Linked DNA regions of Homo sapiens: regions 2, 3, 4 and 5 are each linked to region 1. Evidence: promoter capture Hi-C in 16 types of primary human blood cells and fetal thymus (Javierre and others, 2016). All regions are on one chromosome and are shown on one strand. The core of a region is centred on a gene start or on the middle of the fragment in contact, and the rest is flanking DNA. Distances in the headings are between cores, read along the strand shown.

Region 1 (5,746 bases), core at 1,863-4,362:
GCCCAGGCTGGAATGCAGTGGCTGTTCACAGGCACCATCATAGCTCACTGCAGCCCCAAACTCCTGAATTCAAGGGATCCTCCCGCCTCAGCCTCCTCAGTAGCTGGGACTACAGGTGTGCCACAATGCCCTGTAAAGGACTCAGATCCCAAAAAGTTTTAAGACTTATACACTGTTTCACGGAAAAGAAATATGGAACAGTTTCAACATCTCAGTGCTGCTCAGGTTTAAGAAAAGCAACATTCAGGGCATTGTGGCTGACGCCTGTAATCCCAGCACTTTGGCAGGTCAAGGCAGGCAGGAGGTCAGGAGTTCCAGACCAGCCTGTCCAACACGGTGAAACCCCATCTCTACTAAAAACACAAAATTAGCCAGGCGTGGTAGCAGGTACCTGTAATCCCAGCTACTCAGGAGGCTGAGGCAGGAGAATCGTTTGAACCCGGTAGGCTGATGTTGCAGTGAGCTGAGACAGCACCACTGCACTCCAGCCTGGGCAACAGGACCAGACTCCGTCTCCAAAAAACAAGAAAAAGAAAAGCAATATTCAGAAAGAGTAGGAAGAGGTGACCCGCTGAGAAAGACTCACTGTTCTGGCTCTGGCCATAAGAAGAATAGCTGCTCTGGCCATAGCCTGAAGTGTCCGTGGACTGGCTATAACCACTGTAACTCTGCTGTCCGTAGGGCTGACTGCTCTGCTGGGAATAGCCCTGCCCGGGCTGGGTGGGGTAGGCCCCATAGCTAAATAAAAGGAAAACCAGCGTGATCAGAAAACATGGCGTGACCACCCTTGCCCTCTACAAACTCTGGAAGCCCAAAAATAGCACTCACCTTTGGGTTGCTTGTTGGGTATAATCTGCAAAAGAAAAATACAATCACATTATCTTCAGCTGCCACTCTGAAAGAGTTGAATTAAAGCTAAATTCCTTAACTCAAGCACTGATGAATAAAAAGGACCACGTAGGCCAGGCACGGTGGATCATGCCTGTAATCCCAGCAGTTTGGGAGGCCGAGGTGGGTGGATCACTTGAGGTCAGGAATTCGAGACTGGCCTGACCAACATGGTGAAGCCCCATCTCTAATAAAAATACAAAAAATTAGCCGGGCATGGTGGCGCACGCCTGTAATCCCAGCTACTCGGGAGGTGAAGCAGGAGAATCGCTTGAACCCGGGAGGCAGAGGTTGCAGTGAGCCATTGCACTCCAGCCTGGCAACAGAGCAAGACTCCATCTCAAAAAAAAAAATAAAAATAGGACCATGTTGCAACAAAGGGCATAAAATTCCTCCATGAGACACTGGTTGAGAAGAGGAACAAACTGGCGTTATCAGCCAAGTGTTCTTACAATAAAGAAAAAGTGAAGAAAATGCAAGTTTCTACAGAGTCCCAGAAGCCTTAACCATTGGAAAAACCAAGGTCTTGGTGGACATCCACAATTTTCTGCAAGCCCAATTCATGTCAGTGATTGCTCTAAAACATCGCGCATTCGTTTCATCCACTCTATGAGAAAGCCATTATCGCCAGGAGTCAAGAGACTAACTCTCCCAACGTCGCAGAACTACCAAAGTGGCACAGGTTTGAATTCGAACAGTGTTCAGATTGTGGCCTCTGCTCTCTCAGCCCAGACCCACAGAATAAGAAAGTCTCAAAAAAGGCCATTCTTCACTCTTTGACCAATCCCGGAGATGAAGTGGGCTTTTTAGTGCAAAGCCAGAGAATCAAAAGAGCCCTTGGACCCCAAATGACAGAGATCATGCAACTGCTCGCCTTAGGAGGCGAAAGTCAACAGGTACTCGAGTCCCCAGCCCTGGGACTCCAGATGGTTCCGTTTTCTCACCTACCCTGCCTTCCCCCAGCGAACAAAAAGCAACAAAAGCGCTTTTGAAAAGCCCCACTTAAGATACACGAACAAGATCAACTCATCCTCCCAGCACAGGAAACGCGGCGCTTCCCCCGCAGGAAAAGGGAAAGAGGACCAGGAGAGGGTGTGGCCTCGGGCGGCCGTTCTTCTCCGTCCCTATCTCAGAAAAAAGAAATTTAGACCAGGCGTGGTTGGCTTACGTCTGTAATCCCGACACTTCGGGAGGCCCAGGCGGGCGGATCACCTGAGGTCAGCAGTTCGAGACCAGCCTGACCAACATGGTGAAACCCCGCCCCTACTAAGAAACACAAAAATTAGCCGGGCTGTGGTGGCGGGCGCCTATAATCCCAACTACTCAGGAGGCTGAGGCAGAAGAATCACTTGAACCCAGGAGGTGGACGTTGCAGTGATCTGAGATCGCACCACTGCACTCCAGCCTGGGCGACAGAGGAAGACCGTGTCTCCAAAAAAAAAAAGAAAGAAATTTAGGCGGGAAAAACTCTCGGGCCGTCCCCAAGTCCGTTGGTCGAACCCTGACCACCGCCGCCAAACCGTTAAGCTAGAGGGCGGCCCCGATCCCGAGCCTCCGCCCCCAGCCGCGTGGCAACCCAGGCGGGAACGGAGCGATCCCGCCCATTCGCGAAGGACCACTGAGGGACAAGGCTCACACCGGACGCGCGCCGCCGAGTCTTCCGCGAAGGGTCTCGCGACAGAAAGCTGAACCAACACGAGGCGGGGAAGGGGTACCCGCGCCGCGAAGGGGGAGGGGCCCGCAGAGCGCGTGCGCGCCGCGAGTGCCCGGATGCAGCACTGCGACAAAGCGGGCTCGAGCGCGGGGCCGGGAGTTGGGGGAGGCGAGGCCACGGAGAATGGGCGTTTTCCACCCTCACCTGACGCTTCAAACCCCTAAGAAGCGTCCCTCCCAACGCCCACCCCAAGCAAACGGACTGCAAAGAAAAGACTTCCCGCCCCGCGCGCGAGGGCCAGAGGAGCGAAACAAAATGGCGACACCAGCCTCCTCCAGTTACTCTTCTCCGCGGCTTCCCGCCACAGGGGCGCCAAAAAATCCCACACGGGATCGCCGCCCCGGTCCCACTGAAAACGAAAAGCCCAGCTGGGAGGCCTCGGCCGGGTGCGCCGCCGCCGTCGCCTCGCGCCCTTACCTACCGTTTGAGGCCATGTCCGCGCACGCGCGCACAGGCAAGCAAGCAACGAAGTTCCAACACCGCTGAGTACCGACGCCTGGAGGACTGAGCAGCCCCGCCTCCTGCGTCGAAGCTTAAGTACGCTCCGCCGCCTACGCACCGCGCAGGCGCGCACCAAACGCGGAAGAGCAGGGGGAGGCAGGAACGCACTCCGCCCCCTTCGTAGGGCAGGTAGAGGGTCCGAGCAGGCAGAAGGGAAACAAGTTAACTAGAATCATGCGAATACTATACATAATCATATTTTTTGAGGAAGAACCCCTCTCTCCTCGGCAGGACTAGCCCACGATCTATCTCCACCCCCATGAAGGCACAGTGGTACGGCCTGAGTGCCCGCTGGGGGCGGGGCGAGGGGGCGGTCCCGGCGGCTGGGGACGAAACTGGAGTCACAGCCGGGAGTAGCGGGGTGGAACCGAGATTCCTGTGGCCGGGCCCCTTCGCTGGGCCCCGCTTTCACCCAGGATGGCGAGCTCCTGCCCTCCACCCTCTTGCCGCTGTATGGGGCGCCTCGTCCCCGCGGCTCCAGCCTCCCTCGTCGGCAGCACACTGGCCCTCCCTCTCCTGCGCCCTGAGGTTGACTTCGTCGTCTTTCAGGGTTGCCTTGCCTTTCGGCCTTTCTGGGGTTCGGGGATTATGACGTTTGACCTGAAAGACAGCAGGGATTTCGGCCGGGACCCCTGGGCCCCGGGCTCGTCCAGCACTGGGCTCTCACCCGGATCCTCATGGCTTTGCCCCTGGGGAGCCACGGGGCGGAACAGCCCAGGCCATCCTTGGGACCAGAGAGGGTTGACCTCAGATGTACGGTACCCAGCCTTTTCTCAGGGACCTCCTTTTTATTTTTCTGAAGCCCTACCAGGGCGATCCCAGAAATAAAACGTGTACAAGGCTTAAGTGGTTTCAAAATGCACAGATAATTTCCTTGTCATCAGTCTTACGAAGGAAGTAAAGATACCTCCGTTTTCTAGATAAGGAAAGTGAGACTCAGAGACCCAAGTAATTGTGCCTGATTACAGGGCAGCTAAGAGGAGTCGTGATTCGAATCCAGGTCTTGTAACTGCAAAACACTCCTCTTTTTGGTGGCATGAATGCTAGAGTGTTTGGTCGCCTTTTCACTTCCTGTGAGAGCAAAAGCAAAAAGAAACATTCAAATTAACTTGCAACTTGCACTTTCATCAGCCTTGCCTGGAGAAGGCAATTTGAAACTACTGAATAAAACAAGACAAAAGACGTTAATTCCTGATACATAGGCATGCAGGTTTTCCTTCCCAACTTAACCTTTCAGCGGGATTTCAGAAGGTCCTTTGAGGGTTGGACACGTCTTTCTAGAGAAACAATGAGGGCCATGCCCTGGGCCCGCCCACAAATTAAGCCCCACTAAGCCCTTGACTTCAGCCCTAAAGGCCCTGAATATGCCAATATCCACCCCACCGCCTTTGGAAGGAGAGTTCAACTCTCCAGTGAGAGCAAAAGAAAGGAAGTCCACCCTTATTCATGCATTAAGTCACAAATATTTATTTAGCACCTAGTATGTTCCAGGCACTGTTCTGGGCACTGGGTATGCATTCGTGTACAAAGCAGATGAAGTTAACATTTAATAATAAAGCTGACCGGGTGCGGTGGCTCACGCCTGTAATACCAGCACTTTGGGAGGCCGAGGCGTGTGGATCACGAGGTCAGGAGTTCGAGACCAGCCTGGCCAACATGGTGAAACCCCGTCTCTACTAAAAATACAAAAATTAGCCAGGCGTCGTCCGCGCATCTGTAATCCCAGCTACTCAGGAAGCTGAGATGGGAGAATCGCTTGAACCCAGGAGGCGGAAGTTGCAGTGAGCCAAGACGTGCCACTGCACTCCAGCCTGGGCAACAGAGCAAGACTGTCTCAAAACAAATAATAATAATAAAGCTGACATTTAATAATGATATACATTGTGCTCATCTATAATATGTAATAGCTAACACTTTAACAAGACTTACTGTCAGGCCCTGTTCTGACTGAGTAAACTCTTGATTTTATTTTTCACAACAAAAGGCTGATGTGAGGATGACATTTTATCTTTTTTTTTTTTGGGGGGACACTGTCTCACTCTGTCACCCAGGCTGGAGTGCAGGGGCGCCGTCTCGGCTCACTGCAACATGTGCCTCCCGCGTTCAAGTGATTCTACAACTTCAACCTCCCAAGTAGCTGGGAGTACAGGTGTGCGCCACCACACCCAGCTAATGTTTGTATTCTTAGTAGAGACGGGGTTTCACCATGTTGGCCAGGCTGGTCTCGAACTCCTGGCCTCAGATGATCCATCTGCCTTGGCCTCCCAAATTGCTGGAATTACAGGTGTGAGCCACCACGCCCTGCTAAGGATGACATTTTACAGATGAGGAAATAAGCATAGAAAGACAGGCAGTTGACCGGGCACGGTGGCTCACGCCTGTAATCCCAGCACTTTGGGAGGCCAAGGAGGGCAGATCACAACGTCAGGAGTTCGAGACCAGCCTGACCAACATGGTGAAACCCCGTCTCTACTAAAAATACAAACATTAGCCAGGCATAGTGGCGCGCACCTGTAGTCCCAGCTACTCAGGAGGCTGAGGCAGGAGAATTGCTTGAACCCCGGAGGCAGAGGTTGCAGTGAGCCGAGATCGCGCCACTGCACTGCAGCCTGGATGATAGAGTAGAGCAAGACTCTGTCTCTA
Region 2 (5,829 bases), core at 2,133-4,632, 670 kb before region 1:
GTTATCAAGCCCCAAGCTTTTATTTGCAGAGAGACATTTTATTACTGTATCAATCTCATTTCTCATTATTGGTTTGTTTGGGTCTTCTATTTCTCCCTGATTCAATAGTGATAGTTTGTATGTGTCCAGGAATTTAGATATTTTCTCTAATTTTTCCAGTTTGTTATCATGCAATTGTTCTTAGGAGTCTCTGATTATCTTTCATACTTCTTTCTGCAGTATCAGTTGAAATGTCTGCTTTTTCATTTCTGACATTGTTTATTTGGGTCTTTTCTCTATTTTTTGTCTAGCTAGTGGTTTATGAATGTTGTTTCATGTTTTCAAAAAAAGTTTTATTTCATTGGCCCTTTGTATTTTTTTAAGTTTCTAGTTTGCTTACTTCTCCGATTTTTATTATTTCTTTGTTTGTTTGTTTGTTTTGTTTTGTTTTAAGACGGAGTCTTACTCTGTTGCCCAGGTTGGACTGCAGTGGTGCCATCTCGGCTCACTGCAGCCTCTGCCTCCTGGGTTCAAGCAATTCTCCTGCCTCAGCCCCCTGAGTAGTTGGGATTACAGGTGTACTCCACCACACCTGGCTAATTTTTGTATTTTTTAGTAGAGAAGAGGTTTCACCACGTTGGCCAGGCTGGTCTCAAACTCGTGACCTCAGGTGATCCAGCTGTCTCAGTCTCCCAAAGTGCTGGACTACAGGCATGAGCCACTGCACCTTGACTGATTTTTATTATTCCTTATGCTTATGTTGAGCTTAGTTTGTTCTTGCTTTTTTGGTTTCTTGAGGTGTATCATTAGGTTGTTTACTGTAAATATTTCTACTTTTTTGATGTAGGTATTTACTGCTGTAAACTTCCCTCAACACTGCTTTTGCTGCATTTCATAGTTTCCAAAATATTGTGTTTTCATCTTCATTTTTTAAATATTTGTTTGGATTTCTGTATTAACCCAATGGTTGTTCTGGAGCATGTCATTTAATTTTCATGTATTTGTACAGTTTTCAAAGTTCCTTTTGCTACTGATTTTTGGCTTTATTTCACTGTAGTATGAGAAAATACTTGATATGATTTCAATTTTTAAACATTTGTTAAGACTCGTTTTCTGGCCTAACAGAGGGTCTATCCTGAAGACTGTTCCATGTGCTTCTGAGAAGAATGTATGTTTTGCAGTCATTGGATCAAGTGTTCTGCAGATGTCTGTTAGGTTCCTTTGGTCTAAAGCAACGGTGCCTAACCTTTTTGGCACCAGGAACTGGTTTCGTGGAAGACAATTTTTCCTAGGACTAGGGGAGGGGGATGATTTCAGGATAATTTAAGTGCATTACATTTATCATTAGATTCTCATAAGGAGCATACAGCCTGGATCACTGGCATGTGCAGTTCACAATAGGGTTTGAGCTCCTATGACAATCTAATGCTGCTGCTGATCTGACAGGAGGTAGAGCTCAGCTTCACTGGCTCACCTGCCACTCACCTCCTGCTGAGCTTCCTGGTTCCTAACAAGCCAGGGGTGGGTATTGGTCTGTGACCCGACGGTTGGGGACCCCTGGTCTAAAGTACAGTTTAAATCTGATGTTTCATTATTGATTTTCTGTCTAGGTAATCTTCCAGGGCTTGTCTAGTGGTGATGAATTTCTTCAGTTTTTGCTTGTCTGGGAACGTCTTTATTTCTCCTTCATTATGAGGTATAACCTTGCTTAGGCTGTGTTTGCTAGTTGAGGCTGTGGTGAGGTTTTGGTAGGAATGGAACACCAGATAGGCCAGTCCTTCAGCCCCCATGGTGACAGTGGCAGCAGTAAAGGGTTGAGGGTGTCTGTCCTTGGGCTGCTGGGTAGTGTATGTGGGCACTGGTGTTAGTGTGCCTAAGCCTGTTGATTCTCAGGCCTTCAGGAGGCTTGCTCTGATGTCTGTAGTAACAGCAGTGGGCTAGGAAATGGGGCAAGTCCTCAGGCCTCTGAGCAGTGTGTACCGTGTGGATGAGGAGAGTAGTGGGGTTGAGGCAACTTCAGGCTTCCAGGCAGCACTCACAGTGTTTGTGGTGGCTGCAATGGGCTGAATCAGACAGTCCCTAGAGCCTTAGGTGACACATGAGTGTGGATGCTGGTGGTTGTCTGGGTGGGCCCATCCTTAGGACCCCAAGAGTACCCAGATGACAGCAGTGGTGGATGGCATGGGAGATTCCTAGACCTTTAGACAGCATGCTTGAGTGCTGGCTGCACATTTTCTTGGCCTGTTTTTAGGACCCTGGTGGACTCATGCCAGAGGCTACCACCTGTACAATGCTGTCCTCAGGTCCACAAGTGGAATATTTGACCACTAAGGGTGGGAGAGAGGCAGGTGAGGTGGGCCTGTTCTCAAGTCCTCCTAGTGATGCACATGAGCATAGGCTGTGGGCAGGGCAGGGGAAGTCCCAGACCTCTGGAGCTCATGCTAGGGCACCAGTGATGGCAGGCCTTCTGGAGCTGTTATTAGGCCCCTGGGAGATGGGTGCACCAAAATCTCAGAAATCGCCACTAAAGAATTTATTCATGTGCAAATAAATAAATAAATAAATAAATTCACTTACACTGTCTTATAATTATGTAATTAGTTTTGCTAGTGTGTGCTTTGTCTTTCTTATGCATTCAAATTATTGTCTGGATTTACTTGCTTTCAGCCTGAAAAACTTCTTTTGCCATTTTTTCATAAGGTCAGTTGGCTAGCAACAAATTGTATCAGTTTTTATTTACATAAAATGTTTTTATTTAACCTTCATTTTTAATAGCTAGTTTTTGTGGGTATAGGGTTCTTATTAGGCAGGCTTTTTCTGTGAGCATCAGACAAAATAATTTATAAAGAAGTAATTGAAAAGCTTCAGAGAAGGAAAATAAATCAAGACCTAAGGACACTGACTGGATTGAGCACCAACGTCATAGTGATGGCAGCTGGGTTTAAGATGACAGGGAGAATTGTCACTGAAGACAGTAGAAGTCTGGGGATCAAGTGGTCCTGACTGCAGCTGAATGGAAAGTTTATTTTGTATTTTATTTTATTTTAATTTTTGAGACAGAATCTCGCTCTGTTGCCCAGCCTAGAGTGCAGTGGCCCGATCTCAGCTCACTGCAACCTCTGCCTCCTGGGTTTGAGTGATTCTTCTGCCTCAGCTTCCTGAATAGCTGGGATTCCAGGTGCCTGCCATGATGCCTGGCTAATTTCCGTGTTTTTAGTAGAGACGGGGTTTCACCGTATTGGCCAGCTGGTCTCAAACTCCTGACCTGAAGTGATCCGCCTGCCTTGGCCTCCCAAAGGGCTGGGATTGCAGGCATGAGCCACCGTGCCCGGCCTGGAGAGTTTATTTGTTAGAGCCTCAGATATGGCACATGAGAGGTACACCAGCATGAACTCAAACATATTCAGAACTGGTGCCTTGGGGGAAAATCTATAGATTAAGTGCATGAGAAGTCACCACTTCAGTATCAGATGATGTTTGATTAAGAAAGTGTAACTCCAAATGTGGCAATCATGATCAAGGTTAAAGTTAGCACTAGTTATAACATAGGTGTGGTTGGTGGTGTCTCAGAAGCAAATAAAAGTTGTCAGTTGCTAAGAATGTGTTAATCATTTTATTCCACATGCTCTCATGCTGACTGTGTAGTTAAACATCCCTGTAAGTAGAAACAACTTCACTGTAAGCGCTATGTAAGCCTGGTGCAGGGGGCATTTTCTTCATTCCCAAAAAAGTTTTACATAGACTACCTGTAATATTGAAACGTAGGGACAACTGGGGACCATGTGTGAAGGCCCCCAGAAATTTCTTCAGTTAGCAAGGATGTTTGGTAAAGCAACACAGAAATTAAACAAAGTTTGAAACTATAGTTATTGCTTCTACTTTATTGGCAATAACTGAGACCAGACAACCCTCCTGGGCAAAATTACCTAAGAAAACAAGCTTGCACACGTTAAAGTTTGAAACCCATCTGTCCTACACTGATCTTTTCCAGGAATTAAATGTGTTCAGTTTTTCCTTTTGTTGCTCCCCTTTCCAATAATCTCGAGGCCAGGGCTGTCCTGCTTCTACAGGTGACATGACAGTTATGGGCCTGGAGGGAGACGAGCTGACAGTATCCCTTCTTTATAACCAAGTCTCAGGGACCACCATCCACACACACAGACTCACTCCAGGACTCCGCTGGGCAAATGGATGTTTCTCAGCTTTAGTAAAAGTGAGTGATCACGACTTACGTTGGTAGTGGCAGGAGGATTTTCTCAATGATGTAGATAACTCTCTCATAATTTTGTTCTTGTGTCTCACTGAATTATAACTATTTTCAGATAAAAATATAAATTTTAATATCATGAGCACATAAATTTACAGATGTTCGAAAGGATATTTGTAATTTTGTAATGGTATATGTTATAGGTAAGACGTTTATTTAGAAACAGAATGCTTGTTTTTCGGTCATGTAAGGAAAAATTAGCATTTAGACAAAAAGGTTTTTTTAGCAAGGAAATTTTACTTTCTGCAGAAAGGGTGCTCCTTGCAGATGGAACAATGGCAAGAGCACATTTGAACAAGGGAGGGAAGCAATTTTTATTTTTTATGTAGCTTGTCCCTGCTCTTGTGTCCTGTTTTTATTGGCTGGAGACAGACTTCATAATTTAAATTAAAACCTGATTGGCTAATAACTTAAAATTTTTTAAACAGGTAAAAGCAATGGAAAGATAAATGAAAAGAGGAAGTTGTTTATGAAAGGACTTAGAAAAGTAATAACATTCCTAAATAAGGAAGTGACAGGCTGTGAGCTGGGACATGCCTGTGAGCACATCCAGGACAGGTATTTCCGTTAAGGCACAAGGACATAGAATGTACTATGTGCCTGTGAGCATGTTTAACAGCTACATAGGATAGGGCTTAAACAAAGAGTTATTAGCACAAAGTAAGGAGGCTTGAAAGAAATTAGTCTTTAAAAGAAACTATTATTTCTAACACTTATTTATCCTGTAACAAGAATGGAAACTTTGAAGAGGAAACTTTTTACTTTCTGCAATTCCTTCCTTTTGATTTTATAGCTTTTTTTCTTTAAAATTTTTTAACATGTTTTGGTTTAGCTGTTTTGCTTGAGTTTTTAAAAGAAAAAGTTTTTCTGGTTGGTGAAATGCCACGGTAAAAGGGATAGCCAATTGAACTAGAGCACAAATATTGCTTTAATTATTTGGCAGAGTGTTCAGTAAAGGTCTTCTACAATATTATTACATACCTGTTTGGTGATGAATAAGGGGGGATTGATGGGTCAGCTCTTGGAAGTGCCTGACTTCACTGCATTAAGTTTTCAAGGAACACTAAATTTTTCCCTTGTTGTTGGAGACACCAGGTAAAATTGGTCTTGGAAGATGGAGGCTAGATGGCCCTCGGGGGCTGACCCGCAGGGTACTGCATTTTAGGAAATAGTAGCGAGAGCGTTTGACACAGTTTATTATCTCAGGCTGTAGGATTTTGAAAAGGAGCTACCATGTAGTCCATGTTTTGTTGATTAGAGGACTATTTGAGTGGAAAGGGGACAACCTGGGCCTCTAGCCTACCATGCACACGTGTTTAACGGTCACTTTTATTTAGATGCAGATGAAATATTTAATTTATTTTAACCAGCCATTTACATTTTGATATCCTGTTTTAATTGTTATTGTTTGCTTTAGGTTTTTTATTTTTACTGTAGAGACTTTGGTCTTGTTTTTGTGTCTGGGAGGAGTGATAACTAAACAGGCATTAAAAGTAGTAACTTGAGGTGAGTTAGATTTAGTTATATTAATAAGATAGGAAGTAGTTAAAGGGAAGAAAAGAAAAAAGATAGATAGATTACGT
Region 3 (5,890 bases), core at 237-2,736, 750 kb before region 1:
TTTGAACCTTTTCTCTTTTTTATTTAATCTTCTAGCTAGTAGTCAATCTATCTTATTAATTCTTTCGAATAACCAACTTCTGAATTTATTGATCTATTATATGGGTTTTTTTAAATCTCAGTTTCCTTCAGTTCAGATCTGATTTTGGTTATTTCTTGTCTTCTGCTGGCTTTGGGGTTGGTTTGTTCTTGTTTCTCTAGTTCCTCCAGTTGTGATGTTAGGTTGTCAATTTCAGATGTAACTTTTTGATGTGGGTGTTTAGTGTATAAGTTTCTCTCTTAACCCTACTTTAGTGTTCCAGAGATTCTGGTATGTTGTATCTTTATTAGTTTCAAAGAATTTCATAATTTCTGCTTTAATTTCATTGTTTACCCAAAAGTCATTCAGGAACATGTTGTTTAATTTCCAAGTAATTGTATGGTTTTGATCAATTTTCTTAGTATTAATTTGTATTTTTCTTTCTCTCTGGTCTGTGACTGTGGTTGGTATGATTTTTTAAAAATCTGCTGAGGATTATTTTATATCTAATTGTGCAGTCAGTCTTAGAGTGTGTGTGCCATGTGCAGATGAGAAGAATGTGTATTCTGGTGTTTGGGGGTGGAGAGTTCTGTAGATCTCTATTAGGTTCATTTGGTCAAGTGTCGAGTTCAGGTCCTGAATACCTTTGTTAGTTTTCTGCCTCAATGATCTGTCTAATAACTCTGAATTCGTTGTTGAAGTCTCCCACTATTACTGTGTGGTTATCTAAGTTTCTTCACAGGTCTGTAAGAATTTGCTTCATGAACCTGGGTGCTCCTGTGATGCATGAATATATATTTAGGATAGTTAGGTCTTTTTGTTTAATTGAGTTCTTTGCCATTACGTAATGTCCTTCTTTGTCTTTTTTGATCTTTGTTAGTTTGAAGTCTATTTTGTCTGGAATTAAATAGCAACCCCAGGCTTTTTGTTTGTTTGTTTGCTTGGTAGATTTTTCTTCATCCCTTTTCTTTGAGCCTACAGGTATCATTGCATGTGAGATGTTTCCCTCAAAGACAGCATACCATTGGGTCTTGCTTCTTTGTCTAACTTGTTACTCTATGCCTTTTAATTGGGGCATTTAGCTCACTTACATTCAAGGTTAATATTGATATGTGCAGACTTCATCCTGTTATGTTGTTAGTTGGCTACTATGCAGACTTGTTTGTGTGGTTGCTTTATAGTGTCACTGGTCTATGTATTCAAATGTGTTTTTATAATGGCTGATAACAGTCTTTTATTTCCATATGTAGCACTCCCTTCAGGAACTCTTGTAAGGCAGGTCTGGTGGTAACAAATTTCATTAGTATTTGCTTGCCTGAAAAGGATCTTATTTCTCCTTCACTTATGAAGCTTAATTTGGCTGGATATAAAATTATTAGTCAGAAATTATTTTCTTTAAGAATGCTGAATATAGGTTCCCATTCTCTTCTGTCGTCATTTTGATATTTGACATGACACTAGTCTGGTAATTTAATTTGTGTTGTAATTCAGGTACTCACAGGATGAGATTCTGCATTTGGTTTTCAGCAATCTTGGCCTTGTGGTTACTGGAGATAAGCATCTTCATGGCAGACATAGAAGCTTTAAGGTCATGAACGTGGAATTTGGCATACACATTTTTTTTTCTGAGCTCATTCTTTTCTTTCCCCACTTTGTCCACGGACATTACAAACAACCAGTCAATATTCATATATTTTTATTTTGACAAAAATGTTTCAAAGTATTATAGGCATGGTTGTCCAGGTTCTTGATTCTAAAAATGCTTCATTAGGGGTATTCAATGGCAATATTCTGCACCTTTTTTGCCATGTCATGACATGCACTATCAATGCTCTTATTACTACTGGAAATAATTAATAGTGTCTGAATTTAATCAAATTATTGAGCCCAATACAGAAACTTCAGAACCAAAAAATAAGATTTATCCAGGTCATTCCTATAAAACCACTCTTAGTACCAAAATCTGTATTAGCCAAGATTCTTTAGAGAAATAGAGCCAATGGTATATTGTATAAATTATCTCAAGTTTTCATAACAAGTACCACAAACTGGATGGACTAAACAGCATACAATTATTTTTCTACAATTCTGGATGCTTTAAGTCCAAGATCAAGGTCCTATTATGCAGGGTTGGTTTCCAGTAACTCGTCTCTTCCTGGCTTATTGGAGGCTCCCTTCTGTGTTCTCATATAGCTTTCCTCTCTGTGTGTGGAGAAAGAGCTTTCTGGTGTCCCTTCCTCTTCTTATAAAGATACCATTCCTACCAGAATAAGGGCTCTCCCTTATGAATTCATTTAACCTTAATATATGTAGTGTATAATTCAATACTTATAATACATATTATATACTATATGATAACATGCACACATGCACACACGTGTGTATGTTTGTGTATGATAATATAGTATATAATATACATATACATGTATGTGTGTGTATATATATATGTACACACACAGGCTCATTTGATTATGGAGACTGGCAAGTCCAAATCTGCAATGTGGGCTGAGAAGATTAAGACTGAGATCTGAGAGGGCAATTCCAGTTTTAATTTTGAGGAAAATTTGACATAGTTAATGGTGCAGATAAAGTACAAAAGCGATCTAATGGAGATATTTCTCTTGCTCAGGAAGGCTGGCTTTTTTGTTTTATTTAAACCTTCAAATGATTGGATGAGGCCTAACCCGCAGTATGTAGGACAATCTGCTTACTCAAAGATTACAAATTTAAATGGTAATGTCATCAAAAAGAAAGAGCCCTCCATATTGATATAAGATTAACCCACAGAACCCTAATTTTAATGCCTGAAAATCAGGGGAGAGGGTGTCAGTCATTTGCTGATGTTGTTATAATGCAATAGAAGGCAGCACACTCAGTTTCTTTATTTATATTATCATGTTTCTCTTGTTTTGTGGTACTACAACGCTGGTGGGCTAACACTGGTGAGTTTTTTTGGGCCATGTATTCCATTATGTTCAAGATGACATAGGATATAAGGAATACATTTTATTACTGATTTGTTGGAAGACTTTCCAGGCAATCTTAAATTAGTTCAGGATGTCAGAAGAATCCTTAGTCAACAAAAAAGTCTGTGAGTAGAAACTTTGAGTTTGGAAAGGATGATGTAGACCCTATAGTGTGACAAGTCCTCCACTAGATAACTTAAAGGTGTATATCCACTGCTTGAGCACTGAAGGCCAGGTAGTGAGCCAAGGCCATGGGGACCAGCTGAGGAGCAGGTGTTTCTGAGAATGCAAACATCCTAGAGAGTATCTGAGAACATACCAAGGGAGAGTCCCATGATACACACATGGTAGGCAAAAAGCTGTAAAAGTGCTTAAAAGCAGCTTAGAGATGGGAGGTGATGTGGACTCTAACGCTGTCCTGCTGCCTCCTAGGAGGGTCCCACATGTAAGTCTTAACACACTTATCTACTTGCCAAGCTGGATTGGTCTGGATCATTATTTAGTCTCGGCTCCCTTCCAGATTGTGGGACAGGGAAATATTACAGTCTAAAATTTTTCTTATAACAGACCCATTTCCCCCTGCATTTCTCCACTAACTACAGCTATAAACCTTGAAAATCACACAGGAAGCCTTGAAAGGAGAGCTCTGAAAGGTGGTATGAAGAAGACAGTCTGCTTAAGGACTCCAGAACTGAAGGAATTGTTTTGTGGCAATGCATGTTATTCCCCTAACTCAACTGAGAAAAACAGAGACCAACACTTAGTGTTTTTCAATCCCCCAGATAACAAGAAAACACAGCCCAATAAACTTATTTCTTCCCTGATAGAGGACTTTATCCAACAACAGAAGACCATCTTGGCATGACCTCGGAGTAGAATCATTCAGAAGTCTGCTAACAATAAGAAGCCAGAGAATTGCCAGAAGAATATTGCCTTAAAGGCTCAATGGTCTCCACATCTTAAGGTTCACAAACCCATACAAGTAAAACAATATTTGGACATAAAATGCTAATATTCATGAAATTATTTAATAACTTTATATCTGAATTATTTTATTTTTATCCTCTTATATGATAGTTCATATACCCAAAAGAGATAAAAATAATAGAAAAGATTAAAATTTTAATATTTTCTTCTCTTACCACATGGGATATCCAGTTCATCACCTCTAATGTATGCTCTTCACTCTAAATAACTCTGATGTACTAATAAAAAAGTGTTTCTCCTACATCAGCATGAGCCCTCCCTCTCCAAGGAGACTCTGGAGGGCATTGGTGTTGAGCCTGGACTAGAGAGGACTATGTTTCTCACAGATTGGAGTTAACAAATAAAGTAAAAGATAGTCAGTTAAATAAATTTCAGATAATGAATTACATATAGAGTATCCAAATACTTATACTACAGAGTTAGTAGTTGTCTTTCTGCTTTTTAGATGTAACTGTGTGTCTGGTAGTTTTACTTGCTGAATCCATCAACGCCAACATGAAATAATCATAGGATCTGAAAACATGATGCAGACCTAGGAGAAAAGCAAAAGAAGAAAAATCCATAGAGGTCATATAGATTGGAAGGAGCATGGAGGAGAATTGGGTGCCATCTGATACCATACAAATATATGTATTTGAATGCACATCTCAGATTGCTCTGAACAGTGACAGTTTGTCCTCAGGCTGAGGGTGAAGCCCCTGGGTACTCTCAGAGACGGATAATGCAGAACAAGTTCATCTTCCTTATTCTCACTTTCATCTTAGCTTGTTTATGATATTGCAAGCCCAAAAGCTTCCATGCAATCATGGAAATGTCAGGAAAAACATCATCAAGTGAACCAGGAACTAAAAGCTAATCATAAAGTCTATGTGCTTAGATCAAATGTCTGAAAAAAAAAATGACTTCAAAGAAAGAAGCCATTTCCAAAACCAATGTTATTTTGTATTACAGAATGTTACCTTAGACAAAAATAAAGTTTTATAAGACTTATTTCCTCAGTTTTATAATAATAGCTATTGTTTAGTGTTGTATTATTATAACCAAGCCCCTTGAGATTTCAGCACCCCAGCATTTTTAGCGACTGAAATAATGAAATTTCTAATTAAACCTTTGCTTGCTTGCACAAAAGCCAGCATCCCTTGTTTCTACAATAAAATTATAAATTGTTGATATACTGTTGTCAAGCAGGAAGAGATAATTTTCTTTTTCAAGCAGGAGGGTCACAGAAACATTTTGCAGAAGAAATACATGCCTTGAAGGACATTGTTACCAGCTGTTGACACCGAGAAGTCTTGTTGGCCAAGATGTTATCTGAGACTGAAGAAATACACACTTTTCCCCTCAATTCCCTTAATCTCCCCCTTCCTTATCTTCTGGCTGAATAAACATCCCCTGATGCTGCTTTGTTTTTTCAGATGGATTTGAGAAATTTTCTCTCCTACATTCTTACTTTGGCCCCATTGAATAAACCTTCCTCTATCTCCAGGCACCGGTGACACTGTTTGGCCTCAGCTGTACATCACATTCATGAGCCAGGATTTGGAATTCTACATCATTTTATTAACAATATTATTTTAATAGTTACTTGCATTCTTCCTGACATATTTAAGTATAGCTATATATCACAAAATATCCTGTGTTTTATTAGTATAACAATCGAAAGCATCATATTCCTCATCGATTTTACCGTACTTTATAAATAGCATTGAAAAACATATGACTGCTCATCAATAGCACAAAGCGATTATGAGAACTGCAGATTACCTGGTTAGGTGAAGAAAAGGTTTTTTTCATTCAGTGGCAATAGTGGCAACCCAAGAAACACAGCTAGCAATATCAGAAAAGGGAATTGCCCTTCCTGGCTAATAACAGTTTTATTAAATATTTGTGTAAAATGCACAAATGGCAAGATAATAATT
Region 4 (6,331 bases), core at 3,672-6,171, 540 kb before region 1:
TATAATAATAAAGTTCTACATTAAGAAAAAAAAAGATGTTGAATAAGCAATCTAACTCAATTCCTCAAGAAACTTGAACATGAACAAAATAATCCCAATGTTAGCATAATTATGAAAATAGTAAGAATTAGAACAAAAAGAGACTAAATAAAGACTAGAAAGGCAATAGAAAAGATCAAAGAAACTGAATTGAGTTTTTCAAAGAAAACAAAATTGAGAAACTTTTGGCCAGATTAAGCAAAGGATCAAAAAGAGAGAGGACTCAAAAAATTATAAGTGGGCTGGGTGCACTTCCTCATGCTTGTAATCCCAGTGCTTTTGGAGGCCATGGCAGGTAAATCACTTGAGCCCAGGATTTGGAGACCAGCCTGGGCAACATAATGAAACCCTTCTCTCTAAAAAATACAAAAATTAGCTGAGCATGGTGGTACACCCCTGTAGTCCCAGCTACTTGGGAGATGGGAGAATAACATGAGCCTGGGAGGTTGAGGCTGCAGTGAGTTATGATCATGCCACTGCACTTTGGTTTGGACATCAGAGTGAGACCCTGTCTCAAATAAATAAATAAATAAATACATAAAAGAAAGAAGGATGAGTCATTACAACTGACAACACACAAAGAATAATAAGAGACTACTATGAACAATTATATGACAACAAATTGGATAACTTAGAAGAAACAGATTCTTAGAAATGAATGACTCACCAAGATTAAATCACAAAGAAACAGAAACACTGAACAGACCAATAATAAGAAAGGAGATTGAAGCAGTTATAAAAAAATCCAATGAGAAAAAGCCCATGACCAAATGAATTCATGGGTGAATTGTATCACACATTTAAAGATGAATTAATGTCCATCCTTCTCAAATTCTTCCAAAAAATTGAAGGGAAAAAACACTGCCCCTTAGTTTGCATGTAATGAAAAGTGGGTATATAAGTACATGACTGCAGAACTGCTCCTCTCAGCACACTGCCTACAGGGTAGCCTCGCTCCACAGGAGCAGTCATAGAGCTGCAACACTGCCAGCTCAATAAAGCTGTTTTCTTCTACCACTATCTTGCACTTGAATTCTTCCTGAGTGAAGCCGTGAACCTTCCCAGGATAAGCCCCAATCTGGGGGCTCACCTGCCCTGCAACAAGAGCAATTAGGTAAAAAAAAGAAATAAAAGGCACTCATATCAGCAACGAAGAATTGTAATTTTCTCTGCTTGCAGATTAGGTGATTTTATATACAGAAAACCCTAAAGAGTATACAAAAAGAGTTAGAGCTAATACTCATTCAGTAAAGCTGAGGTCACAAAATTACCATACAAAAATTAGTTGCATTTCTATATACTAACAATTAATGATCTGAGAAAAAAAGTTAAGCAAACAATCCAATTTATAATAGCATCAAAAGTATAAAATTCTTATGATTCCATTTAACAAAGGAGGTGAAAGATCTGCTCAGTAAAATCTGTAAGACAGTGATGAATACAATTGAAAAAGACACAAATAAATGGAAAGATATCCCTTGTTCATGGACTGGAAAAATTAATACTGATAAAATGTCCACACTACACAAAGTGATCTACAGATACAGTGTAATCCCTATTAAAATTCCAATGTCACTTTTCAGAGAAATAGAAATAAATTCTAAAATTTATTTTATTTTATTTTATATATATTTTTTGAGGCAGAGTCTCGCTGTTGCTCAGGATGGAGTGCAGTGGCGTGATCTTGGCTCACTGCAACCTCCGCTCCTGGGTTCAAGCAATTCTCTTGCCTCAGCCTCCTCAACAGCTGACATTACAGGTATGCACCACCACACCTGGCTAATTTTTGTATTTTTAGTAGAGACGGGGTTTTGCCATGTTGGCCAGGCTGGTCTTGAACTCCTGGCCTCAAGTGATCCACCTGCTTCGGTCTCCCAAAGTGCTGGGATTACAGGTGTGAGCCACTGCATCTGGCCTCCAAATTTCTATAAAACCACAAATGACCACAAATAGCCAACACAATCATAAGAAATAAGAATGAAGGTGAAGGCATCACACTTCTTCATTCCAAACTATTACAAAGCTATACTAATAGTGAGTATTATATTGACCTAAAAAGACATATAGACCAATGGGACAGAACAAGGAAACCAAAAATAACCCCATGTGTATAGAGTTAGCACTCTTTGACAAGGGCACCAAGATACACAAAGGGAAAAGGATGGTCTCTTCAATAAATGATGCTGGAAAAGGTGGATATTTATGAGCAAAAGGATGAAATTGAACATTTATACCATATACAAAAATGAACTCAAAAAGAATTAACACTTAAATGTAAAACCAGAAACTGGATAACTTTTAGAAGAAACACAGGGAACAAACTCTTCAACATCAGCCTTGGTACTAATTTTTTAGATTTCACACCAAAAAAGCACAATCAACAAAATCAAAAAACAAAAACAAAAACAAGCGGGACTACATCAAACTAAAAATTGCCTGCACAGCAAAGGAAACAAAGAACAACATGAAAAGGCAACCTAAGGACTGGCCTAAGGACTGGGAGAAAATATATCTGATACGAGTTTCATATCCAAAAGATGTAAGAATCTCACACAACTCAGTTGCCAGTAAATCTGACTTAAAAATATGCAAAGGACCTGACTAGAAAGTCTTCCAGGGATTACATAAAAGTAGCAAACAGGTTTAAGAAAAGGTGCTGAATATAATTAATCATCAGGGAAATGAACACCAAACCTCAATGAGCCATCACCTCACATTTACAGAGAGATAACACAATGAGATATCAGATCATGAGATATCACCTCATACCGTTAGAATGTCTACTATCAAAGAGACAAGCGATCACAAATGTTGGTGACAGTGTGGAGAAAAGGAAACGTTGTATGCCATTGGTGGAAATGTAAATTGATCCAGCCATTATGGGAAAAAGCATAGAGGCTCCTCAAAATATTAAAAATAGAAGTACCATATGAACCTCAATTCCACTTCTAAGTATATACCTAAAAGAAATACAATCTGGCAGGAGCAGTGGCTCACGCCTGTAATCTCAGCACTTTGGGAGGACGAGGTGTGCGGATCACTTGAGGCCAGGAATTCGAGACCAGCCTGGCCAACATGGCGAAACCCCGTCTCTACTAAAAATACGAAAAAATTAGCCAGGCGGGGTGGCACAAGCATGTAATCCCAGCTACTTGGGAGGCTGAGGTGGCAGAATAGCTTCAACCCAGGAAGCGGAGGTTGTAGTGAGCCAAGATGGCGCCACTGCACTCCAGCCCGGGCAACAAAGTGAGACTCCATCTCAAAAATAAATAAATAAATAAATAAAATCAGTATGTTAAAGAGATATCTGCACCCCTATGTTCACAGCTGATTATTCAAAATATATAGTGGAATATTATTCAGCATAATGAAGAAGGTAGTTCTACCATTTCTGACAACATGGATGAATGAACCAGGTGGAACTATGGTAATTGAATAAGATAGAGAAATACAAATACTGTATAATATCAGTTATTTGTGGAATCTAAAAAAAGGTGAGTTCATAGAAGTAAAGTGTAGAACGGGTCCCAACAGCTGACAGGTGGTAAAACTGGGGAGATACTGGTCAAAGAGTACAAACTTTCATTTAAAAGATAAATTCTGGGGATCTAATGTAAAGCATTATGAATATAGTTTACAATACTCATATATACTTGAGATTTGCTAACACAGTAGATCTTTTTTTTTTTTCTTTTTTTTTTGAGACGGAGTCTTGCTCTCTGTCACCCAGGCTGGAGTGCAGTGGCGCGATCTCGGCTCACTGCAAGCTCCGCCTCCCAGGTTCACACCATTCTCCTGCCTCAGACTCCAGAGTAGCTGGGACTACAGGCACCCGCCACCACGCCCGGCTAATTTTTTTTTTGTATTTTTTAGTAGAGACGGGGTTTCATCGTGTTAGCCAGGATGGTCTCAATCTCCTGACCTCATGATCCGCCTGCATCGGCCTCCCAAAGTGCTGGGATTACAGGCGTGAGCCACCGCGCCCGGCCCACAGTAGATCTTTAATGTTCTCTCCACAAAAAACCTGGCAACTATGTGAGATGATTAATATGTTAATTAATTTATTTGTATTAATCAATACACAATGTATACATATATAAAATCAAACGATCAGGATGCACCTCTTAAATATATATAATTTACAAGTGTGGGAAAAAAATCCACATGAAAGAAGGAAGGAAAAGAAAAAAGAAAAGGAAAAGAAAGAAAACGAACATAAAGAACACATTCTCATTAAGCTTCACAGTTAACCAGACAAAATTATAAAATGTTATGAATATATAAGGTAAGAGTTGAAAGTTCACTATATACTGGACAATGTTGTAAGCTTCCCATAGACATTCATTTAGTTAAGAATTCTACATAGTAAGTAATATATTAAATGATTTTAAATCTGTGGAATTTGTGCATACAGAGATTATATTTCTAATCTTAGTTTAGGCTAGGAAAGATGAAAAGTTGAAGTGAAATACAGAATCAGATTTTTTTTTATATTTAGGAAGATGTTTTGCACTCTGATGAATTACTGAGTCTCAATTTTTGTAGGATCATCTGGGAAACCACCATAGGATTAGAAATTAATATACCAGAAAATATGTGACATCTATCCACAGAATTCCTGGGACTTCTGAAAAAAATCCTACTGTCCATCACTCGCCTCACACACTTCTGACATGAGGCAAAACCAGAACTTTAGAAGTGGTTTCACATAGAGGTAGAAACATGCACAGACTTTCCCAGAGCCCCCAAATCAATGGAAGAACAGTCAGATCACGCAGGCCCTCACAGGCCAAGGGGAGCACTTTGGCTGTCACTGTGAATTTGATGGTGGATCACAGAAGGGTAAGGAGAATAATCAGATAATTTAAGAATATGAGACAGAAGATGTCCCTCTGTGACAGCAGCAAGAGAAAGAAATAAACCCAGGTGTCTCAAAAATCATTTCCACTGGAGAACTTCCCAATCCACACTTCAAGGTCTGGTTCTTTCTTAATCTCTGGACCTCTCGCCCATGTCATCTACTTCATTCACTCCCACCTACCTGGCTGGATGGCTACTGTCTCTGCACTCTTCACATTCCAGGGCTCTTTCCTTTGCTCCAAAAAGGTGATCAGGTCCGGCTTAGAGACAGCGAGACCTGTTTTATTAGAAAAAGTCACATGACTCTTGCTGGGAGTTCTTTAATTGCCAGCTCAGTAGGATACTCAGTAAAGAGGGAACATTATAGAGGATCCTAGAAAATTACTTCCCCAAATACTGTTTCCTGTCAGCTTCTTTAGAATATTCAGGAAGCATTTTAAACACAGGAATCCTGAGCTTCACTTCCAAGTATGACTAAATCAAAAATAAGGAGAAGGAATTAGATTTTAAAGTGTGGGCAATGATAGTTTATGTCACTCAATTTTCTAGAATCACTACTAAACTAGAGTGAAGCTTCTACATCACCTCAAGAAAGAAGGCAAATGTCAAGATCAAACATTAGGAAGTCTTTTCTACAACAAACCCACAATTTTTTTTTCCTGGAAACAGGAATCTGAATTCATTCATATAAAGCATAAGCTCCCAAGTGACATTCTACAAAGGAAAGAAATAAAACCCTTAGTTATTAGATATTAGATATTCCAAAGGCAAGTTATCCTCACCCAGAGAGACCAGGTTTCCGTAGTTCTCTAACATCACATCCCCATATAAAAGCTTCTGATCTGAGTCCAGGTGTTCCCACTCCTCCCGAGAGAATTCTATGGCCACATCCCTGAATGTCAACAGTCCCTGAAATAAAAATAAATAGCACATTGACCATGTGGCCATGGGCAGAGTTCATCACTTGACAAACCAAGATGAAATAAGAGAGCTAAGAAAACTGACTGATTTATATGAGTGACCTGAAATATTCAATAAGATACTTTTAAACACAATAATATTTTCTATGTATTCTCTAACTCTGTGGAAAGAGAATGATACAAAATCCACAAAACCAGTGTAGATACTATGCCTATATGGAATATAAAGTATAAAACTAAGGCATCGAGGCCGGGCGCGGTAGCTCATACCTGTAATCTCAGCACTTTGGGATGCCGAGATGGGTGGATCACCTAAGTTCGAGACTAGCCTGGCCAACATGATGAAACCCCATCTCTACTAAAAATACAAAAAATTAGCTGGGCGTGGTGGCACATGCCTGTAATCCCAGCTACTCAGGAACCTGAGGCAGGAGAATCACTTGAACCAGGAAGTGGAGGTTGCAGTGAGCCAAGATTGCACCACTGAACTCCAGCCTGAGCAACAAGAGCGA
Region 5 (5,574 bases), core at 1,592-4,091, 520 kb before region 1:
GACCCCTGTGTGACATGAAGCGGGGCAGGAGCAGACGGGGCAAAGGCACTCCCCTTCCCCTGACGCAGGGCACAATGTTCTGTAAAAGGCAGTCAGATCTGGCAGAGCAGCTCCCCTGCGAATTGCTTAGGAAGCGGGGGCTGGTGGGCTTGGGGTTGAAGTGACAGGCTGGAGACCTACAAGAAGAGGGTGGTCCCTGAGTGGGTGCCCCTGGTAGGCTGGCAGGGACTCACCAGTTATGGTAAAAGCCCTGTGTGGATGTGGTAATGCTACCTCGCTGGTCCTCGGCTGTGATCACAAACAGGTACACAAGGTCCTGTGCATCTTGCAGTTCCCAGGGGACAGGTACCAGCCGCTCACGGTGAGCACTTTCAGGGGCTGCAGGAATGGCCAAGCATGAATGGGCCAGGCCTCCTGGTGTGTGGCCCTCCACCCACCCGGGGACCCTCTTCCTTGCTCCTCCCTGGAGTCCCACCTTTTAGTCACCGTTCTGGGGTTGCAGGGGACACAGTGGCTGTTCCAGGGTCCCTAGCAGGATGTACTTGGGTGGTGTGCAGTCGGTGGGGTCCATCTCCAAGTCTTTCTGCTCCTGCCGTCTGTGAGACCCAAGGCTGGTGGTCAGCACACAAGCACCCAGGGCCAGCTGCCTCTAACTGTGGCCCTGGTCTGGGTTCCTCAGGCCCAGGCCCCTCCAGGTAGAAAGGCCTGGCCTTAAGCCCCCTTCGTCAGCCTCTGGCCTCCTTGTTCCCTGCCCCTCTGCCCCCTGCCCAATCTCTGGCCCCAATGCCTCCACACCTCTCAGGCCACTGTCAGTGAAGACGCTCAGGAAGGACAAGGAGCTGCATCAGCTGGGTCCAGGCTCCTGAGCAGTCTCAAATGTGGCACTCATCACCGTGGGCCTTGTGCATTGTGCAGGGCTCTGTCAGGAACAGGAGAGAGGAGGGTGTTACCAGGGCCCTGCACCCTGGAACAACCCACCCAGCTTAGTAAATAGTTGGCAAGGAAACTTCATGGATAATTTTAATTTTCAACTTTAGGCTTCCATTTTCAAATTCCACTATGGACACATAAGCTAGAGTTTGGTTTCAATACACACGTGTGCACGTGCGCACCTACACACACACACAAACACACACACAACACACCCTGGCTTGCTAAGGGCAAGAATCCTTGATTGCAAAGAACCTCCTGCCAGTTGCTTCTGAAGCACACACAGGCCTTGGGGAGCCCACAAAAGGCCTCCTGCTTTTTGTGCGCTAGGCCTCTGCAGCCTCACCCTGCTCTCCTGGGGCAGCCTTCATGCAGGGGTGGCCTGACAACTTTCTAGGGCTGCCAAATTTAACGCCCCCATTGAGTTTCATGGGATTTTAATGGTCATTGTTTTGGAGGAAGGGAGAAATTGTGATGAACTGTGGGCCCCCTTGAGCTACAGACCTTTTCCACAAGTAGTCAGGCCCTGGGAACCTGAGTGCTTCACCCAGAGAACTTGAGTCTACGGAAGCTTTTATTTGACAACCAAGCCAGGCTCACTACACCAGCTGATGGTGCTGCTTGGAGCCGACTTCCCCACTCAAGGACTGTGAAACTTTAGTTTCTTTAGGAAACTAAGCACTCATCTTTTCATAATTTAATAGGGCGGATTCCAAGCCCTAGCTTCATACTGCCTGACTTTCTTTTCAGAATTTCAACTGTTTTTTCACCCCTGGGCCATGAAGTTAGAGAGTGCAGGTATGATGCCCTGAAAAGCAGACTTGTGCTCCAATCCCACCTCCATATGCTCATCTGCGAAATAGAGACACCAGCTGGGGCAGTGCAGTGTTGCCCGGCCCTGCTTACAGGGGCCCTCCCTGGGCAGGCTGCCCAACTTCCAGACCAACCTTCCACCACGTGGAGCAGCAAGCCCGCCTGCAGCCCTGCCATGCTGCGCAGCTCTGAGACGTGGTCCAGTGTGCTGCCACCCAGGTGCAGTGAGAAGTGATGTGGTGACATGGGTATTCATGGTCCATGAACAGCTGGTGGATCTCCAGCACCATCTCCTGCGGGAACACCTGCCAGGGAGAAGGCCCGGACCAGCCCGGTCAGAGGCCACATGGTAGGGAGCAAGGACATACCCCTTCCCCAGCCCAAAACACCTGGGTCCTGAGAATAAGTGTCTCAAATACTCAGTTTCCCACTTTTGGGCTTTTACATTCCAGGCCCTGTCCATATACAGCATGCCCATTGGCACCTGTGTGCCTAAGTGCAGGACAGAGCCTGGCCCCACTGACTCTTCCTGCAGCCTAAGAGCAACCCCCGAGCCAAGGAGAGGGAGATGGAAGAAAGTGGGGAGGGGGAACGGCAGGCTTGCTCTTGCCCTTGCCTAGTGCCAAGGGCTGAGTGCCCCAGGGCAAATGGCCTTTTCCTTCCTGAAGGGGTGCTCCAGGGCCCAAGCCTGTGAGTAGAGAGGACATGAGAGGGTCTTGCCAGGCTCCCCACCAAGTTACCAGCTTGCAAGTCCTCCGGGTTTGCTCTGTCCTTGGAGAACACCCAATACCACCCTCCAGGCCCCGGTGACAGATGGTAAGGCCATGGCCCATAGAGAGGTGACTTGCCTGAGGGCACAGAGCCAAGAGGCTGGGGCATCCTGGGACCTGACACTACCCACCCATTCCCACTCCTCTCCCTGAACAGGGCTGGTAGGCCCAGCTGGTAGCTGTCCTCTAGCAATAAGGCAGTAACTGAACCCGGACTCCATTCCCAGGTCCACCACATTAGCAGAGTGACCCCGGGCAGGGCCCAGGGCCCTCCATTTCCTGCCTATAGCACAGGGCCAGAAAGAGCCAGGGCAAGGCTGAGTTTTCCAGCATCATCTTCCCCAGCAGGCTCAAGCCCTGGTCCCCAGATCCCCTCCTCCATCATACCCACAGGGAGAAGGGTTCGATCTCGGGGCCAGGATCTCCACAGAAAAGTCCAAATCCTGAATGGTGACTTCTATCTGGTGGTGTCGTCTCCTGGCTTGGCCTCATCCAGCCCATGTTCCCGGGATGGCTCAGCCTCCTCCTTCCTCCTTCAGGCTCCTTCTTCTTCAGGGTCTCCAGGCAGTTCCCATTCAAGAACATGAGTGATGGTGGCTCTGGGGGTGACAAGAAAGGCACTGAGTTGGTTGGGCCTTGCTGGTGAGGGAGGGCTGTCCACCTCACCCCACTTGGATGGACACAAGTCATATGGAACGGTGTCCGCGTGCCCTCCAGAGCTTTGACTCCACAGTCCCAGCTCACCCTCGGCACACCTGCAAGCTGCACCTTCTCCCTTTCACATCCTGTGCCTCCCTCCTCAACTGCTCCTTAGCCCACCACAGTCTGGCTTCCACCTGAGCTCGCTGTCCAAACCACTCTCCCCACATCACCAAGGCCACCCTCAGGGCCAAGCCCCAGGGGCTTCTCCAGCCCAGGTACATCTGTCCACTCACCAGCACCCAGGCCACTGCTCATTTCCTTTCCTCCTCCCTGACCAATGCCACACCCTCGTCCCTCCCTCTCCAGCTCCATCCTCTTCCTCCAGTCCTGAGCTGGGAGTGTTGGGCCCCCCAGCCTCTCCTCATTCTCACCTCACCCTCTCCCATGGCTTCAAAGATGGTCCCATTTCCCAGCTCTCATAGCCAATCCTGGCCTCGATCAGGCCTTTCAGACCAAGGAGGCAGCTGGTCCTGGGCATCAACATGTGGCTCTCCCTTCAGTATCATGGAAGACCCATCCTGCAGGGATGAAATTCATCTTCCTCCACAAACTGGTCTCAGCGTGTGAAGGCCCCCCACCACTTATCTAGTCACCCAACCTCAATTTCCCATCTCCTATTTCAAGAATGCCCCTTGGAACCCTTCTAAGAAGCACACTGCTCACAAAACCAAGCTGCTTTTTTTTTTTGAGATGGAGTCTTGCTCTGTTGCCTAGGCCGGAGTGTAGTGGTGTGATCTTGGCTCACTGAAACCTCCGCCTCCTGGGTTCAAGAGAGTCTCCTGTCTCAGCCTCCCAAGTAGGTGGGACAGGCATGTGCCACCACGCCCAGCTAATTTTTGTATTTTTAGTAGAGACGGGGCCATGTTGGCCAGGCTGGTCCTAAGCTCAGGTGATCCGCCTGCCTCAGCCTCCCAAAGTGCTGGGATCACAGGCATGAGCCACCACACCCAGCCAAAATCAAGCTTCTTAAGCCCGTGTTCTCAGGCACCAGCCTAAAGGCAACCCCAGCTCCTGCCGGCTCCTGCACTTAGGTCTACATTCCCCAAACCACAGAGGACTGAGAATACCTGAAACCTGCCCTCCCACCTCTCTGCTTTTCCATGCTGCCCCTGACATCTCAGTCTGTCGGGCAAACACTGACTCATCCTTCAAGGCCTAGGTGAAAGTGTCTACAGGTAGACTATTGCTGCCTACCTGCCACCCATCCTCCTTCCCAGAGATCAGTGAATGAAGGATGTGGAGCCCCAGAAGGAGGGAACTATGTCTTCTGATCTGTCCACAGCCTTGACCTCCAAAGTTTAGATGTGGATGGAGTAGAATAAAGGCAAACTTCTTTTTTTTTTTGCAATTTGGCCTTGGCCCTAATGGTCAGGCTGCATCTGCTTGAAATCTACAATAAAGAGCAAATAGTTGATAACGTTGTGAATTGCAGAGGGGAAGCTGGCAGTTGAGAATCAGGAGAAGGAAGTGAAAATTTAGAATTTTACTGAAAGCCTTAGAAGAATTAGGTTGGGGGAACAGGGTGGTGGATTTGAGACCCTCCTTGCCATAGATTTGGAAAATGCAGGGAAAATCAGTCCCCCTGTGGGGTGTTAAAATAATTAAATGGGAGGCAATTTGACTGAAGTGGCTGTAGTGCCCTGGGTTTCTACCTAAGAAAACCAAAACGTAACTCATGCATTTCTTAGAAATAACTTAAAGGAAAAGAAAACACTCTTAACCAACCACAAACCACCAATTAACCTTTGATTACATAATCAGGGAATTTCCGCCTGGACAGTTCAAATAAGGGGACTACGTAATTGTAGCCAATCAATTACTGAATTGGCTTTGCTTCCTCATGCATCTTATTAAACCCTTTCCTTCAAGCCCCTCCGGTGGACCCCAAACCACAATCCATGGTTGTGGCTTCCTGATTCACGGGTCGTTATTTGCTCAGATAAAATCTTTAACGTTTTAACCAAACCTCAGTTTAATTTTTAACAAAAGAAAGAAAGGACTACGGACCCCACGGACCACAGCTCCTCCCACGCCCGAACCCCGAGCCGGGGTTCTCCCCTACGGCCCCTCCCGTCATCACCGCACAACGCGGGGAGACACGGGGCTGCGGGCGCGAAACTGCCCAGAGAGGGCTCAAGGCAGGACCAAGGTCGTCGCGCAGGGACGGGACGAGGCGCCCGGGGTCCCAGCTGCCGGCCGAGCCGCACCGTGTGACCGAGGAGACTCCGGGCCCCGACCCCGGAGCCGCCAGGGGCAGGCCCGGTTCCCAGCCGACCCCTGCCGCGTCTCGGGAAGCTCAGCCCCGCAGACTCACCATCTCGCGGCTTCAGGAGCGTCCCGGTATCCTCTCTAGGGACCG

What was found. The method cuts DNA at HindIII sites, captures the fragments that hold promoters and counts their contacts. A CHiCAGO score of 5 or more calls a contact.
Region 2: a fragment that was not itself captured here is called in contact with the fragment with the promoter of FUS in region 1 in 2 of 17 cell types (endothelial precursors and M0 macrophages); the score reaches 6.7 in endothelial precursors.
Region 3: a fragment that was not itself captured here is called in contact with the fragment with the promoter of FUS in region 1 in 1 of 17 cell types (activated CD4 T cells); the score reaches 5.2 in activated CD4 T cells.
Region 4: a fragment that was not itself captured here is called in contact with the fragment with the promoter of FUS in region 1 in 2 of 17 cell types (activated CD4 T cells and fetal thymus); the score reaches 5.5 in activated CD4 T cells.
Region 5: a contact is called between a fragment that was not itself captured here and the fragment with the promoter of FUS in region 1, in 4 of 17 cell types (fetal thymus, erythroblasts, activated CD4 T cells and 1 more). The highest score is 10.1, in fetal thymus.

What each region holds. Positions count from the first base shown.
Region 1 is chr16:31,177,505-31,183,250 of GRCh38, reverse strand. It overlaps FUS (FUS RNA binding protein), which reads right to left and starts at 3,112. Exons shown (of 15, transcript NM_004960.4): 1 at 3,024-3,112; 2 at 829-853; 3 at 587-738. The coding sequence starts at 3,036. RefSeq lists enhancers at 1,837-1,886, 1,987-2,046, 2,077-2,166, 1,592-2,352, 2,353-3,114 and 5 more and silencers at 2,397-2,446, 2,567-2,716, 3,357-3,426. The HindIII fragment of the contact is 6,651 bases long and covers 1-3,136 here.
Region 2 is chr16:31,851,212-31,857,040 of GRCh38, reverse strand. No RefSeq gene overlaps it. Among named protein-coding and RNA genes, the nearest start is that of ZNF267, 20 kb to the left of the region's middle. The HindIII fragment of the contact is 1,077 bases long and covers 2,844-3,920 here.
Region 3 is chr16:31,923,390-31,929,279 of GRCh38, reverse strand. No RefSeq gene overlaps it. Among named protein-coding and RNA genes, the nearest start is that of ZNF267, 53 kb to the right of the region's middle. The HindIII fragment of the contact is 231 bases long and covers 1,371-1,601 here.
Region 4 is chr16:31,722,103-31,728,433 of GRCh38, reverse strand. KRABD5 (KRAB domain containing 5) reads right to left here. Exons shown (of 5, transcript NM_001130913.2): 2 at 5,682-5,808; 3 at 5,081-5,176. Among named protein-coding and RNA genes, the nearest start is that of KRABD5, 12 kb to the right of the region's middle. The HindIII fragment of the contact is 1,106 bases long and covers 4,369-5,474 here.
Region 5 is chr16:31,700,694-31,706,267 of GRCh38, reverse strand. It overlaps the pseudogene CLUHP3. Among named protein-coding and RNA genes, the nearest start is that of KRABD5, 9.8 kb to the left of the region's middle. RefSeq lists a silencer at 5,302-5,451. The HindIII fragment of the contact is 2,676 bases long and covers 1,504-4,179 here.